Linked DNA regions of Homo sapiens: all the other regions are linked to region 2. Evidence: promoter capture Hi-C in human tissues and cell types (Jung and others, 2019). All regions are on one chromosome and are shown on one strand. The core of a region is centred on a gene start or on the middle of the fragment in contact, and the rest is flanking DNA. Distances in the headings are between cores, read along the strand shown.

Region 1 (3,387 bases), core at 454-2,953, 65 kb after region 2:
GTCTCCTATGTCGTCCAGGAACCAGGTGGGCGTCCACACTGGCAGTGGGGCTGGGCCTGCCTGACCTTCCAGACTGGGTTTCTGCCCACTGGCCAGGCAGGAGATGCTTGGGGCCACAGAACTCCCCTCCCCGGAGCCCCCTGCTCTTCCTCTGCCCCGTCTCCCTCTACCCCACACCCTCAGAAACATGTGTCTGCCTCCAGATCTGAGCGCTGACCACAGAGCCTTTCCTGGGATAAGGCCAGGGTGGGGAGGCTCCCGCCCTGCCAACCTCCATCCCGGAACCTGTGCTGACTGGTCTCTCTCCCCAGGTGACTATGAGGTCTCCATCAAGTTCAATGATGAGCACATCCCAGACAGCCCCTTTGTGGTGCCTGTGGCCTCCCTCTCGGATGACGCTCGCCGTCTCACTGTCACCAGCCTCCAGGTTTGTGCCCAGGGTGGGGGTGGAGGGTTTCTGCTATCTGAGAGATGGGCAGGAGTTGAGGACAGCAGGTCCATGGGGCCAGGGATTTAGCAGTGACCTTGGAAGGGCCAGTTAGGAGTCCCTTCTCATAAGGCACGAGGCAGGGCCCTTGGGGACGGTGGGCTCCCACCCTGGGGGCTTGCCCGTGCACTCAGGCATGCCACGCCTCGTTCTGCCTTTCTCAGGGTGTGTCTGCCTGTCCTACTGCCACCTGCCATTTCTTGTTACAGTTTGTTCCACCTTCTGTTGTAAGAATGCTAGATGACAACATTTATAAGAATGAGAGCATAAAATCTATACAAACTAAGAGTAAACCAGTTTGCACAGAGGGTGTGAGAGGCTCCTCTAAAGGGAATGCCTATGGGCTGCAGAGCCTGGGCTGCATCCTCTTCAGGCCGCTGGGGGCCTGGCTTGCTTTCTCTTGCTGCTGACTTCTAGAGATGTGGTGTGTTCCTTTCATTCTGTCACAGCGGACATGTGCAAGGAAGGCTTTCAGCAAGTCACACTGAAACATGCAAACCAGGGGGCCAGGTGTCCAGGGGACACATTGTAAAGGAGCTTCTGCATAAGGCGCACAGAATGGGCTTCACCCCACCTCCTTCTCCCACGCGCCTCCTGGCTGCCCCTCAGGGTGGTCACATTGGCCCATCCAGAGTCCTTGTGCATCTCCTCCTCCCACTCCTGAACTGGGCTCCCCGATGCAGGCTCCAATCCCTCCCCCAGAGCCCTTCTGTGCTTCTTCTGGTCCTCCCTGTTGGTCCACCTTCTCCAGGAAGCTCTCCCAGGCCAGGCCAGTGAAACTCAGCTTCCTACCTCAGAGCTCTCTGGCACCCCCAGCCCACACAGCCCATCAGGCACTTGCCCTCCGCCCTCAGCCTGCTTCACACAGAGTGGGGCCCTTCCTTCCTCAGCCAGGACAGGGCACATCGTCTGTCATCTCCCACACACCAAGCACAGCTAGGATAGCAGGTGCACACATAGGGTTGCATACCGGACCCTGGCTCCTCCTGCTCCCAGGCTGGGCTGGCAGGCAGGGGCCAGGCTGGGCATGGGGTGGCAGCAGCCTTTGGGCTGGGCTTACAGTGAGCACCGTGTGGGGCTTCAGAGAAGACTGCTCCAGCCCCGGCCTCCCAGGAGTCTGAGCATCCTCCGTGGCCTTTGCAGGAGACGGGGCTCAAGGTGAACCAGCCAGCGTCCTTTGCCGTGCAGCTGAACGGTGCCCGGGGCGTGATTGATGCCCGGGTGCACACACCCTCGGGGGCTGTGGAGGAGTGCTACGTCTCTGAGCTGGACAGTGGTGAGCTGGCCCTGCCCCTGCCAACTCCCTTCCGGGCTGGGGCCTTCTGGGGAGGGGAAGGATGGAGGCTAAGCCACCAACCCTTTATCCACAGACAAGCACACCATCCGCTTCATCCCCCACGAGAATGGCGTCCACTCCATCGATGTCAAGTTCAACGGTGCCCACATCCCTGGAAGTCCCTTCAAGATCCGCGTTGGGGAGCAGAGCCAGGCTGGGGACCCAGGCTTGGTGTCAGCCTACGGTCCTGGGCTCGAGGGAGGCACTACCGGTGAGTGCCTGGAGCTGGGGAACAGGGTGACTTCTGGGGGTGCTTGGCCACTAGTCTGGTGCTGCTTTGCTCCAGAGGTAGGGGCCCTGCTTCCTAAGCCAGGAGTCCCCACAGAGGCTGTCCAGGGAGCTGGGGCCCAGTCCCTCTTGGGCCACAAGCCCTTCCTGCCCTCAGCCTTGCTACCTCTGGCCCCCAGGTGTGTCATCAGAGTTCATCGTGAACACCCTGAATGCCGGCTCGGGGGCCTTGTCTGTCACCATTGATGGCCCCTCCAAGGTGCAGCTGGACTGTCGGGAGTGTCCTGAGGGCCATGTGGTCACTTATACTCCCATGGCCCCTGGCAACTACCTCATTGCCATCAAGTACGGTGGCCCCCAGCACATCGTGGGCAGCCCCTTCAAGGCCAAGGTCACTGGTGAGTGCCAGTTTGGGGGAGGTCCACCCAGCCTGCAGCCCAGCCCAGCCTGGAGGGCTCCGGTGGCCACGCACATCTAGGCCATAGTCTGCCCCCAGACATCATGGTCAGTTTACCAGGGCTAGAGGTGGGCCTGGCTCTACACAGTACACGTTCTGTGGAGTCGGGCATGATCACGTAAAAATGCCATTCTTCCTCTCCATCGTGGCCCCTCACTCCTTCAGCTCTGGCCTGCGCTGGCTCCTCAGGCTCTAGCACCACTTTCTTCCCTCCTGGCTTCCCATATTCCTCCGCTCCAAGAAGACACAGTCGGTATTGAGCAAGCTTCCCCTCTTGAGGCTGTCTGTAGGATGAGTTGGGTGGGTGTTCCTTTGTAAAGTGGCTCTTACCCTGTGAGTTAGCCTGAGTTCCCAGACAAAGCCTGCAAGGATGAGGGACGCAGCATCTGAGGCCCCAGCCCTAGGGTGGAGCACCAGTTGGAGCTGGCAGCTCAGGGCCCTGGCTGGGAATGAGGCTGTGCTCCTAGAGTGGCCCTTGGAGGAATTTGAGGGGGAGCCTCAAATGCAGGCAGTGAGTCCCACAGGGTGGCAGTGCTGGCCGAGGGTCCCCTGCCTGGGGAAGAACAGGAAGCCCTTCTGACTAGGTTTGTGCCCCCTCCACCCACCCCTCAGGTCCGAGGCTGTCCGGAGGCCACAGCCTTCACGAAACATCCACGGTTCTGGTGGAGACTGTGACCAAGTCCTCCTCAAGCCGGGGCTCCAGCTACAGCTCCATCCCCAAGTTCTCCTCAGATGCCAGCAAGGTGGTGACTCGGGGCCCTGGGCTGTCCCAGGCCTTCGTGGGCCAGAAGAACTCCTTCACCGTGGACTGCAGCAAAGCAGGCAGGTGGCGGGGGGAGGGCGTCTCCCGGGGTGTGAGCAAGAAGCCGTCAGGGAGCA
Region 2 (3,086 bases), core at 296-2,795:
GATGTGCCAGAGAGGGGATCCGCGTGTGTCCCTGGCTTAGGAATCTTCCAGCCATTTCCTGGATGTGCTGGGGAGCCCCTGTTCCCAACTGTGCCCACTTCTATCCTTGCCGAGACCTGCCGAGATGTGAGAACTGCCTCTTCAAGAGCCGGCACCCAGTAGTCATAGCCTGAATAAACGAATGGTTGAAGACGTGAAATAAGCCCCCTGGGCTTCCAAATCTCCCTTCCACGAGAGTGAACATCAGTCGTGCCCACTCTGAGCGGGCTACTGTGGGGGCGTGGCTCGCAGCCCACCGGGTGTGGGACCGGAAGGGAAGACAGGGCGGAGGAGAGGGGGTCTTCCGGCCCTGAGGCTTGATGGGGCCACCGGAGGGCTCCTCCTAAGAGGGTCCTTGGCCCTGGCTCGGTGGGGGGTCGCGGAAAGCGGAGAGGTCAGGGCCCTGCCGTTCGCCCATCCGGGCCTCGACTTCCCTCCTCCGGCCCCCAGGCTGCCGAGGGGCCACCGGGCAGGGGTGGGCAGGGCCTGGGGCCGGAGTCAGCGCGGACTGCTAGGTGGGGGCGCCGGCCGGGCGGGGGAGGGAGGGAAGGAGGGGCGCGCGTGTCTGCGCTTTTGGAGGAAACAGTCCCACCTCGTCCTTTGCCGTCCCCATTGCTGAGCATGACCGGGCCCTGACACCTGGTGCAGAAGGGTCCCTGGGCACAGCAGACCCCGGGGGGACCCGCCGCCAGAACCAGGGGATCTCGCTCCTCCCTCTTGGGGCAGCCATAAGCCTAGGAGCTCCTGACGCTGTCCGGGCCCCGCGGCTCCCCGCGCTCTCTAGGGGAGAGCCTTGGGGCGTATCCGGGGTCGCGCTCACCCTCCCGCGCCGCCCCCTGCACGGGCTCGGAGCTCCCGAGTGCTGGGAGGGCTTCCGGGCGGCGGCGAGCGGCGGGGGGCGGTGTCAGGAGGCCCGGCCAGGCCCCGCCCCCTCGTCCGCCCTCCCTCCCTCCCTGCGCACCCGGCTCGGGTCCCCGGGCTCGCGGCTGCGGCTTCTGCTCAGGGAGGCGGAAGGCGGCGGCGGGAGCGGTCATGGAGGCGGGCGCCGGAGCCGGCGCGGGAGCCGCGGGCTGGAGCTGCCCGGGCCCAGGTCAGAGCCGCCCCTCCGTCACCTGTCTACCGCCCCTCCTTTCTCTCCTCCATCCCTCCTCCTTCCAGACCCCCAGGTGCTCCCGGCCTCCGCGGCTCCCCTTTCTCCGCCCAAAGTCTTCCTCCCTCCATCCTGGCCTCCACCGGGGCCCGGTCTCCATCCTTCCGGCCTGGGACTGAGGCTTCCGCGCACCGGCCGCATCCTGCCTGGTGGTCCCTCCCCAGCGCGTCTCTCCACTTCAGTCCGACGGTGCTTCCAGCCTTCGGGACTGCAGACCCTACACCTCCTGCAGCCCCGGAGACTCCTGAGCGCGGGGCGAGGGTGGGGTGGGCAAGGTCCAGCGAGAGAATGGGAGGAGAGGGGAGGGGAGCGGTCGCAGCCCTACCCCTTCCCGCACGCCCCCCACTCCTCCCTCCCTCCATCTGTAGGCCACCTCAGCCTTTCAGCCTCTTCTTCACTGGCTCCCGCCCTCTTTCAGTCTTGGCCCTCTCCTCCCTGTCCCCCCGGACTAAATACGCACACCCCCTCTTTCTTTCTGTGCAAGCAAGAGGGTCCTGGAACAGCGGGTTCTGAGGAGGCTGGGAGGCAGGGCTGAGAGGTGGCCGAGAGAGAGGAGTCGCAGAGCCGCCAGAGTGAGTCAGGCACCTCCACTGGGATTACAGATCCCAGAGCCTCGAGGAGCTGGAAGACATGTCCCCTTCTTTCCTCTGCACCCCAGCCCGCAGCCAGCCCCCCACCCCCCAGCCCCTCCTTTCTCCCTGCTCTCAGGACCCACAGTGACCACTCTAGGCTCCTATGAGGCTTCCGAGGGCTGTGAGAGGAAGAAGGGCCAACGCTGGGGGTCCCTGGAACGACGGGGGATGCAAGCTATGGAGGGTGAGTTTTCCCAAAAGGCTTCTTTCTTTCCCCTCCCCTCCTCCCTTAATTCCCTTCTTTCCTCCCTCTGACCCCCAGGCCTCTGAGCCAGGACACAGCCCTTCCCTCAGTTCATCTTAGCCCCTCTTCCTGCAGCTCAGAGCTCCAGCCCTTCCCAGGGCTCAGGCTTTGACAGAAGTTCAGGATGCATCCCTTCGGGACCCCAATCACCCCCCAGCTAACCAGGTTATGTGTCCCGAGGGAGCTGCCAGACAGAGAAAGAGGCCTTGTTGGACAGAGCTTTGAAGCAGCCTTTCAGCAGGGGGTTTGTCCTCACTGCCTGCCGACCCAGATCCCAAGCTGTCTCTTATTTTAAAAAGCAAGGAACTGGGCATGTGAATTGTCTTTCTGGGGCCACCAACATTAACTTCGAATGGAAGCCTGTGGCTTTGGTTCTTTAGGATACCTTATTGCCTGAAAGAGAGAGCCTAGGAGGGGGCGCGTGAGGCCATCCTCCCAACACACGTGTATCCCCACCACACCCATGTGACTTGGCAGTTGCTGCCAACACCAGGCCCCTGGAAGGACGCTGGTCCATTTGCCAGTACTTCCTGTGAAGTGTTGCACGTTGCACATTCAGTATGGGCAAACCTGCTCCCCCTAAGGGGGACAGATGGCACGAAGGGTCCCAGTTGAACCTAAGGCTGCTGATATTAGATAAAGTAAGACCAGAGATTCAGAATTTTAAAACAAAGCAAACAATCACCATCCAGACAACATTTTGCTATTTATAGGGACTGCGTTGCAGTAAAGGAGCGGGTGCTCACAACCAGAGGCTGGGGGCCAGCACCAAACCCCAGTTTTTTTAATGCATTAAAATGGTAGGCTTTCTTTTACACACAAGTACAGCCTAAAACTTCCCCTGAAATCTACTTTGTGGTCAGCAGAGTAGGAGGGGCCTCATATGGCTCAGCTAGGGGAGAGGAGACCTTGTGACATGCAGCAGGGAAAAACAAGGTGGACCTTGTAGAAAATTTCAAACAGGTATTTAATAATATACATTTGAAAGGGCGCCCGAGTTTGTCCAATGAAACCTCTACAA
Region 3 (3,344 bases), core at 449-2,948, 76 kb before region 2:
GGGGGAACAGCTTGGGACCTAGCAGAGCTGCTCATCGGGGTTCTATTCCTCCCAGCCAGCGCCCTGACAAAGCCAGCCTCTGGATAAGAAACTAATTACTTCTCCTGCTTCTTCAGTTTGACCTCCTAAGGGAAGTAAGTCCTGCAGAAGTAACCAGCCTGCCGCGGCAGAATGCAGAGCAGGCACCAACTGCCCTGCAACTGCTTCCATAACCTGCAGATCCACCAGGGTGTCGGGGGCCCACATGCTGCAAAGCTTAGGAAGATGGGGTTTTCAATGGACATGCAGCTTTTAAAGTTGTGTGAGATAGGTTGCATTCAGAGTAAGGAAGGGTTGAAAGGCAGGAAGGGCATTTTCCTCTTAGCAGTGGAAGGATCTTCCTGACAGCCCTCCTTGCTTGCTTTCTGCCTGGCTCACTGCTTTCTCAGCAAGTTCCGGGAGGACTATGTCCTGGGGTTCCGAAAAGGGCTGGGGAATGTCCAGGCACGGATAAGGCACACAAGCTCTCTGGAGGAAAAGGGAGGCTCCTTTGCACTTCCCCTTCCTGCAGGTCTGTCCTGGTTTTTCATGATGTCATCCATTCATCATTGTGAGCTGACTGGTGGTCCCAGGGCTTGGCCAGCTGCCCAAGGCCAGGAGGGGAGACAGAGATCCCAGGACAAATGTGCAGCAGGCCCCTGAGCATGTGTAGAAATGTTGTCATCATTTCCACATAGAAAGACTTGGAGGAAATCAAAGAAGACAGTAAAAGTCACAAGATCCTATCCAACCTTCCCTTCCCTGAATGCCTGGGAAGAATTCAGGGGCCTCTTGCCTGTGGATGGAGAGCCGAACCCTGGAGCGGGCCTAGGTGTGGAGGAGGGACTGCTCTGCCGGGTGGTTCATTCTCCAGAATTCAACCTGTTTCTTGACTCCGTGGTGTTTGAAAGCAACTTCATCCAGGTATTCTTGGGTGGCGCAGAATAGCACTCTTTGATTCTTCGAAACCTGTTCCCAAGATATGACTGAGAGAGTCCATCCCTGAAACTGGGGCAGAGTGAGAATTGAGGCAAGGAGAAGCTAGTGGACCTGGAATGCAAGGCCACCCTCACTGACCTGGGCTTTGCTGAGCCCCAGACGGGGCTTCTCCTACAGACAGCTGTCACCCAGGGAGAAAGGTCAGGGGTCCTCTGCTCTGAGTGGAGAATTTGGTATCTAATCCCCCAGTTTACTTCAGCCCCCAGGCTGTCACCTGAAGTAGATGAACAAAGAGGCAGTAAAAAGAGACGCTTCTTGAGAACAATAATGCGGATTGGCGAAAGAACAGCACCTGGGGTCCCAGAGACAGCTGGGCTCAGATTCCAGTCCTCTGCCTTCTCCTTGGGAGGTGACTGTGCAAGTAACCTGTGCAGCCTGAATCTGGCCCCTTGATTGTAAAAGGGTTGAACTGACCTGAGGATGAAATGCAAATACAGCAAGAAAAGTACCTTGTCTAACAGGCACTCGGTGCACGTTCGTCTCCTTGCCTGGGCTCTCCTCTGGTTGGATGGAAGCGAGAATGAACAGCACTTTGGAGTTAGAGAGGACCTTCCTGTTCAGTGAAGGTGCAGGAGATAATAGGGCACCTCGGGGAAGGACCAAGAGGATACATTTTTCAAAGAAGGCCAGGAAACAGTCCAGGGAGGATTGGCAGAAATGACAGATGGCAGGGAACTCCTGGGTTGTAATTCCTGTGGGCAATTGTTAACAAATGGGTGGTTGAAATATTGTTTAAATACTAGTAGTTGTTTAATCAATATAGTGGCTATCAACAAGAATTGATTTTTGGCCCCAACTGCCAGGGAACATTTGACGATGTCTGGAGACATTTTTTATTGTCACGATTTGGCTGGTAGTGCTACTAGAACTAGTAGGTAGAGGTCAAGGATGCTACTAAGCATTCTTTAGTGTGCAGGGCAGTATCCTACCCTCAACAAAGAATATCCAACCCAAAACATTAATAGTGTCGAGGTTGAGAAACCCTGGGCTGAAACAGACTGCAGCTTTTGCCAAATGCTCAGGTTGTGCCTGGGGGCTGTGTTGCAGGTCAAAAGGGGCAGGAATTGGAGAGACGTCTACAAAGCTTCCAACACCATGGCCCTGGGGGTGACCTCCTCGGTACCCTGCCTGCCCCTCCCCAACATCCTACTCATGGCCAGTGTCAAATGGCACCAGGGGCAGAACCAGACATGGAACAGACCATCCATAGCCCCCAACATCTTCCTGAAGAGGTGAGCAATGCAGATGAGAATGGAGGACAAGAGGGGTGAGGGGTGGATGCAAAGTGGAGGTTGCTTGACTACTAAACTCAAGGAGAAGATAGAGATGTCATCAGCAGTGACATTGATTTTTTTAGACAACAGAGTATCCTAAGACAGGTGTTGCACTGGAAGGACAGAGGCCAAGTGGGACAAAGGGAGATGTCATGTGGACAGGAGTCAGGGGCTAGTCTACCTGCCCACTTTCTTTCTCGCTGCACAGACGCCACTGAATTCATAGGAAATCTCTCAGCATTGGGCCCAAGGGCAAGGAGGCAGTGAGTCTGGCAGATGGAGCACTGGTTGGGGAAAGGAGATTATTTCTAGTTCTTGGTGTACAACTAACTGGACTCAATTTTTAAAATCACAAGTTATTTGCTGCTCCTCAGTTTTCTTTGTCTTTTTCTTTTTCTTTCTTTCTTTTTTTTTTTTTTTGAGACTGAGTCTCAAAAAAGACTATCGCCCAGGCTGGAGTACAATGGTGGGATCTTGGCTCACTGCAACCTCTGCCTCACAGGTTTAAGTGATTCTCCTGCCTCAGCCTCCCGAGTAGCTGGGATTATAGGTGCCTGCCACCACACCTGGATAATTTTTGTATTTTTAATAGAGACAGGGTTTCACCATGTTGGCCAGGCTGGTCTTGAACTCCTGACCTCAGGTGACCCACCCTCCTCAGCCTCCCAAAGTGCTGGGATTACGGGCGTGAGCCACTGTGCCCGGCCAGGTTTTTTTTGTTTTTTTTTTTTAATCAGTAAAATAAATGGGACTAAGTCTCACTTAGAGCTGTAGCATATAGTGACATCATGCTTGTCTGGGACGAAGTAGCCTTTTTAAATTTTGGGGCCTCTTTAAATAATCTGTAGGATATCTCAAGAATCTCTAGAAATTCCCAAAAGTCCAAGAAAACCCTTCATTTCTCCATGCTACCTCAGTGACACACCTCTCCATGATGTTCTTGGTGTACCTCTAGCAAGTACCACCCAGTCCCAGCTGACTAATATTAGATCCAAAGCCAGATCCTTGAACTTTAACTCCCTTGGGAAGACTAACTGTGGCATTAAACTCAAT

What was found. Contacts are between HindIII fragments. The study calls those that stand out against the background at their distance.
Region 1: a contact is called between a fragment that was not itself captured here and the fragment with the promoter of CCDC136 in region 2, in 2 of the 25 tissues and cell types used here (bladder and thymus).
Region 3: a contact is called between a fragment that was not itself captured here and the fragment with the promoter of CCDC136 in region 2, in 4 of the 25 tissues and cell types used here (bladder, heart right ventricle, mesendoderm cells and 1 more).

Annotation. Positions count from the first base shown.
Region 1 is chr7:128,854,888-128,858,274 of GRCh38, forward strand. It overlaps FLNC (filamin C), which reads left to right. Exons shown (of 48, transcript NM_001458.5): 42 at 1-25; 43 at 312-427; 44 at 1,631-1,763; 45 at 1,858-2,034; 46 at 2,231-2,449; 47 at 3,121-3,330. The region is part of intron 1 of FLNC-AS1 (FLNC antisense RNA 1); the gene reads right to left. Among named protein-coding and RNA genes, the nearest start is that of FLNC-AS1, 6.0 kb to the right of the region's middle. RefSeq lists an enhancer at 3,306-3,387. The HindIII fragment of the contact is 9,938 bases long and covers 1-3,387 here.
Region 2 is chr7:128,790,423-128,793,508 of GRCh38, forward strand. It overlaps CCDC136 (coiled-coil domain containing 136), which reads left to right and starts at 1,546. Exons shown (of 18, transcript NM_022742.5): 1 at 1,546-2,005. The coding sequence starts at 1,990. RefSeq lists silencers at 653-1,122, 661-929. The HindIII fragment of the contact is 16,505 bases long and covers 1-3,086 here.
Region 3 is chr7:128,714,749-128,718,092 of GRCh38, forward strand. It overlaps GARIN1B (golgi associated RAB2 interactor 1B), which reads left to right and starts at 643. Exons shown (of 7, transcript NM_001282788.3): 1 at 643-942; 2 at 2,065-2,249. The coding sequence starts at 694. The HindIII fragment of the contact is 6,852 bases long and covers 1-3,344 here.